2 separate regions of the Homo sapiens genome follow, and region 1 is linked to region 2. The links are contacts of gene promoters, found by promoter capture Hi-C in blood cells and fetal thymus (Javierre and others, 2016). All regions are on one chromosome and are shown on one strand. The core of a region is centred on a gene start or on the middle of the fragment in contact, and the rest is flanking DNA. Distances in the headings are between cores, read along the strand shown. Region 1 overlaps MOB1B (MOB kinase activator 1B). Region 2 holds the start of SLC4A4 (solute carrier family 4 member 4).

The links. Contacts are between HindIII fragments. The CHiCAGO score rates a contact against its expected background, and 5 or more counts as called.
Region 1: a contact is called between a fragment that was not itself captured here and the fragment with the promoter of SLC4A4 in region 2, in 1 of 17 cell types (total CD8 T cells). The highest score is 5.0, in total CD8 T cells.

What each region holds. Positions count from the first base shown.
Region 1 is chr4:70,986,773-70,989,678 of GRCh38, reverse strand. It overlaps MOB1B (MOB kinase activator 1B), which reads right to left. Exons shown (of 6, transcript NM_173468.4): 6 at 1,511-2,906. Among named protein-coding and RNA genes, the nearest start is that of DCK, 5.4 kb to the left of the region's middle. The HindIII fragment of the contact is 3,316 bases long and covers 1-2,906 here.
Region 2 is chr4:71,185,686-71,188,732 of GRCh38, reverse strand. SLC4A4 (solute carrier family 4 member 4) reads right to left here and starts at 1,474. Exons shown (of 26, transcript NM_001098484.3): 1 at 1,332-1,474. It overlaps LOC124900712 (a long non-coding RNA gene), which reads left to right and starts at 2,209. Exons shown (of 2, transcript XR_007058133.1): 1 at 2,209-3,047. The HindIII fragment of the contact is 10,115 bases long and covers 1-3,047 here.

The sequences.
Region 1 (2,906 bases), core at 185-2,684, 200 kb after region 2:
GACACTGTATTCATCATGCTGTAACAGGAGCATGTACAATTTCTTAGTAAAACTTCTACTAAACATGGTTGTTTAAACCTTAGAGGAATAATTAATTAGAATCTTTGTGTTGCAAAATGCTCATTGCAGATGTTATATAAGGGATTAACAACTTATAATACATTTAGTACAACAGAGGTAAATGAACCTAATTATCAAAATGTAGGTAATTTTACAATATATATTTCTTTACACACAATAAATGAATAACAGAGTGTTTTTATTTTTTTATTTTTTGAGACGGAGTCTTGCTCTGTCGCCCAGGCTGGAGTGCAGTGGCACAGTCCGCCTCTCGGATTCAAGCAATTCTCCTGCCTCAGCCTCCCGAGTAACTGGGACAACAGGCAAGCGCCACCGTGCCCGGCTAATTTTTTAATGTATTTTTTAGTAGAGATGGGGTTTCCCCACATTGGCCAGGCAGGTCTCAACTCCTGAGCTCGTGATCCGCCCACCTCGGCCTCCCTAAGTGCTGGGATTACAGGCGTGAGCCACCGCGCCCGGCCCACAGGGCGTTTTTAAAGCATGCAGACACAGTCCACAACAGCATTGGCTAGCATTTCAACTAGTCTTTCTCCCAAATACCATTAGTGACTTTGAGCAACTGTGGCTACTACCATTAAATATTCTTAACCTGAAGATTCAAACACAAATGCCTCTAACATAAATACTTCTGATACTCTGAGAAGACTTCTAAAATACACGTTTTGGCCAGGCGCGATGGCTCACGCCTATAATCCCAGCACTTTGGGAAGCCAAAGCTCATGGGTCACCTTAGGTCAGGAGTTTTGAGACCAGCCTGGCCAACATGGTGAAACCCTGTCTCTACTAAAAATACAAAAAATTAGCCGGACATAGTGGCATATGCCTGTAATCCCAGCTACTTGGGAGGCTGAGGCAGGAGAATCACTTGAACCCAGGAGGTGGAAGTTGCAGTGAGCTGAGGTCGTGCCATTGCACTCCAGCCTGGGCAACAGAGCAAGACTCCGTCTCATAAATAAAATAAAATAAAATACACATTTCCTTTTGGAACTTGGTAAATGATTCTCCAATATTATTAATATTCCTTAATGATCTGTAATGAAGACAAAATATTAAATAATAGCTTGGTGAAGAGGTCAACAAATGATTATTACTGTGCTAACTGTTCTCACTGTAATAGTATATATTATAGAAAACATACACCTGCATACTGCAGAATAAAGAAAAAAGTGAAAAAAGTAAAACAGAAACACTGGTTTCAAGTTCAGACACAGTAGGGTTTTAAAACCGTAATCCAAATCAGTGACTTGTACAATTTCTGAGCTTTAGTTTTCTAAGATGTTAAGACACTGGTTGTTGTGAACATTACAGAAAATAGTGCCTAACAAATTTTAAATGTTCAACATATTCCATATGCCATCAATATTTCCCTTGGAATGTGTTTAGTGTGGGAATGCCTATAGCAAAAATAAACAGTAATGCAAAGTCAGGATTCATGGCCAAACGTAACTATTTATTCATTTTTTTCTTATAAACATTGAGTTTCTTCTTTAAAAAAAAAAAAACACCTAGAATTTAAATATTTCCCATCCCATCACATACAAGTCTGTATACATTATTTACATCTTTTGAATAAAACATATTACAGATTTTCTGACATCAGTATCCCTTTTTAAACAAAAATGAAGCAATTAAACTTTGATCAGTAACAACTACAATTTGCATAATCCGGCACAGTTTGTAATATAGCGCCTATGTTGGATTTCATAACTTAGATGATTTTTCCCCTTCTAGTTACTTGATTATAAGAGAGAAACTGTCTCCATGAGAGTAGTTCCCTGTCTTTATGCACTCTTCTCAATACTTGCACAGTGTAAATGCCGCCCTTATTCTTCCATTACTTGGCACTGACAATATTCCTCTGCTTTTGTCTTCAGAAATGATTTCTATTTGAACTTTAAGTGTTCTCATATATACTGTATTCTCCTTCAACCCAGATTTCATGACACTGTTCCTAGTGTTAATTCTATGCAGTAAAAGTTAAACCTATAGGAAAAGTTCAAATAAAACATCAAGTAAGTGTTTCCTACAAGATTAGTGCCCTCACCACCCTGGTTATGCATGTACAATAATAAATACAAGTTAGTAGCTCCAAAAAAACTACTTTCCCTAAAAAGTCATTTCTGTCGAACAATTTAAGGAGCAAAGCATCCTTAAAATGAAAATGCACTAATCTTTTTTACAACCTGCACAATTAAGTATTTCAGAAAAACAAAAACTTGTGCAAAATGGTAAGAAACGCCCACCTATACAAATTTAATATTAAATCAGATGAGAACATGAATTTATAAGTAAAAAACAATTTAATATTAATAATATATAGAGAAATTAAATATTGAAATTTTAACTTTGTATCACTAATAATCTCAGCTTCAGTGAAATAATTTAAAAAAAGCTGTCAAACACTAATTTCCTAAATAAACTGAAACCTATGAATTGACAGTAAATACTTCAGAATCTCTAACAATGAAGACCTGCAAAATCAGCCTAATTATTTTCCAGTGTGTGTGTACACGCACAGTGGAAAAACATACAGCTGGAAAAAGCCAGTGATTTTACTATCTACCTTTGAGAACTATAGCCCATATTTTTCAATTATTTAGTTCTATATGCAGAAAAAGTTATTACATTTGCAAAACTCATTTTTGTATTTTCTCTCTTTTGTCAAAATGTGAATCAGTTCAGCTACAAGTGACAGACATACAGTGCAGTTTTATACCTTCAAAATGGATTATTCTCTGTGATCAGCCTATTAGGAAAGCCTTAAAAATTCAGAATCAACTGTGGTCAGAATTTTTGTTACATCTTCAAATTAAACTTTTCCATTA
Region 2 (3,047 bases), core at 225-2,724:
ACATCACATTGGCTATAAAAAGCTACTGAATATTGTTCTAATGGCATTGACGAATCTACTGAAATCACAATGAAAAAAAAAAGCCCAAATGAGCAATGTACACTTTAATTAATTTAATTCAGGTAGTATTACAACTCCAAGTCCCAAGATACAAGAAAAAAGAGAAATACAGTACAACACAGTGTCTCTTAGGAAAGGAACTGCTGCAGGATTTGAGACAATGAGCGTTTAGTACAGCCCAGTGTTCTTGATTTCTCATTAGGAGCAACTTTCCAGGGCACTGAAGCGAACCAGGAAAAGAAATGGGGAGGGTAAGCCAAAGGGGTCGCTGCTCTTCAGTGTCAAGTTGGAAAGAGCTTGCTGCGATCAATTATGCTGAGAAGGTAGGGCCTTGAGAGGGAAGGAAGGATAGAAAAAAACAGTTTTACAGGGCGCTGAAAAAAGTGATAGAAGAGAGGTAGAACTGCTTCCTCCATCTTTCACGTCAAGTTCAAGTTTTTCTTTTTGTTCTATAAGAACTTTTGTCTTTATGGTGCTTGCTGCGGTTTGCTGATGTAGTTCCCAGGTCCTGCCTTCCTCTGGTGACTTATTAACGGACTGGCAACGGCTGAGTAAAATGCACTTAAGAAAAAAGAAATCACCTCTCTTTGCCAAGACTCACATGCTGCCCAGTACCTGAGGGAGAGCTCCGTTGTCGCTGGCCAAGAGAAATTCCAGTTTAACCTATGCCTCCCCTAGCCAAATCCATTGCAAATAAATGTGTGTGTGCCACTTGCAGAGAATCTGCCTGACTCACCCCCCGCCTTTGGCGTGCCAGGGAGAGATGTAAATGCTCCGTCCTGGAGCTGGCAGTGAAGTGGGGGCCGCGGCCTCGGTAGCACCAAGAGTCCCCAAATCTCCCCCTGTGATGGGTTTAGGGATGTGTTCCTCTCAAGCAGGTGCCTGGTCACAGGGCGACCACCCAGGCTCACAGCAACACACGTGTCACTGAGCCCGAGCCCAGCCCGCCGCAGAACTGGCCCCGCAGTCCTCGTAAAGACGCCCAGTTGCGCGCAGGGGACTTAGCAGTGAGGGAGAAGCAGACCACCCAAACTCTTCCTCTAAACCCTAAGAAGGAAAAAAAATACTTTTCCGCGGAAGCAGCCTCCACACACCGCCCGCGCCCAGCTCAGGGGATGCCCGGCCCGCAATTGACCTCTCTCTCCCTCCCAGGAGCGCGCTGAGGCCGCCTGCGCGCCCTACGGAATCGGCCCCCGGGCCCGCGCCCGCCTCCGCCTTGGAGCGAGGGACCCCATCGACCCTCCCGGCAGCTGCCGGGGCCGGGCGCTCACCTCCTGGGGTCTGGCTTCCGTCGCTCCTCCAGTTTGGCGGCGGAGTGTGGGGCTGCAGCGGCCACTGCCACTGCCGCCGCCGCCGCCGCCTTCGCTGCCACCGCGGCCGCCGCCGCCACCGAAGCGCTGCCCGGCGCGCCGCCGGGGTTGGAGGCTGGGGGGCCGCGGAATCCCTGGAGGCGCGAGCCCGGGACGCGGCGGGGCCGAGCCGCGGGAAGTTGTCTGCGCCGGGCGCGGAGCGAGCGGGGCGCCAGTCACCCGCGCCCAAGTAGTCACAACTTTGCCGCCTGGGTGGGTGCGCGCTCCGGAGAGAGGCGAGCGCGGGAGAGCGGGGCAAAGGCGCTGGGGCGGGAGGGTCTTCGGAGCAGGCAGGACTGCAACCTGAACGGCCCGCGAGGAAAGGGGAAAGGTGGCGCGGGGGGATGTCTACACAGCCTGTGTGGTGCGCGGCGAGCGAGTGTGTAAGAGCGCGGGCGTCTACTCTACTTTGCCTCCTGCAGCTCCTGCATATTTATGGGGATCTCTGATGTTCCTGCTAGTAACTAACACTGCAGCAGTGGAGCCCAGCCCAGGCGCCCCTCGGGAGCAAGCCGGGGTGCGGGGGCTCACGGAAGGCGGCCGCGGCGGAGGCTGTGCCGCGAGCGCGAGCCTGCGATCCATATTTAAAGCCGTAAGTGGCCTCGGCCGGCCCCCTGCCCTGCCCTCGCTCGTGCCCGCCAGCCCGGCCCCCACCGCTCCGGGCCGCTGCTCGGCGTCAGCCGCCCGGGCATCGGCGGCGGGGAGGGGCCTCGAGCCGCGCCGCCTCCGCCGGGGGCTTGGGCTCTGTGCGCAGCGCCCGCCCGGAGCTGGCGGAGGACCCGGCTCCGGACCGGCCGCTCTTGCCTCCCAGGTTCCTTTTCTCTCACGCCCTGGGCTGGGTCCTAGGTCCAGCTTTTTGTCCTACTCAAAAGAGTTCCCCAGTGGGGAGAGCCTGTGCTTTCATGCAGAACTAAAATTGCGTGAGTTTCCCAGCTCAGATCACTCTTGACTCTACTTTATAAAACTTGGGGCGTATAGAGTGCTGCCATAACACAGTATTAAGTAATTGTTCACCTTTAACAAAAGATGTCTGAAGATAACGTGGTTGTCAACTGTGTCCTTCACTTATGTCACTGATGCCTTTCTGTCTTCCTTGGGAGTTAGGAAAACAGCCTTAGCAAAGTGATTATTTGTATTTATTCTGTTCCTAAGTCTAATAATGAGGTTCAAGTACTCTTTGCCAAGCAAATAATATATCAGTGATCCAGCACCATTGCCATTGGTAAACTATTGAATCATAAGTAAACCATTAAGATATGAACAGACTGTCAGCACAGACACACCATCTATTGTTCTGGGTACTGCTAGAGAGTAGTCACTTAATGGATTGCAACCACATGGTATATCATGCAAGTGTATATCATTTTCTAGTAATACATATTATATGTAATGTGTATGTGGACATCACTGACCAAACTGTGTTTTCAACAGTAGCCACCAAAATGCATAAAGCTCAAGAGAAATAATTTAACATACCAACTGCTCCTGGTCCCCAGTATTTCTTCAATACAAAGCTATAGCTTATAGGACCTCCAAGAGAAAAAAAAAATGAGGGTAGGGAGGAAATAATTTGAGGACAGAGGCTTTTCTTTCTAGTATTCAAAACTGGAAGAGATCCAGAGATCCATGGTGCCTCAC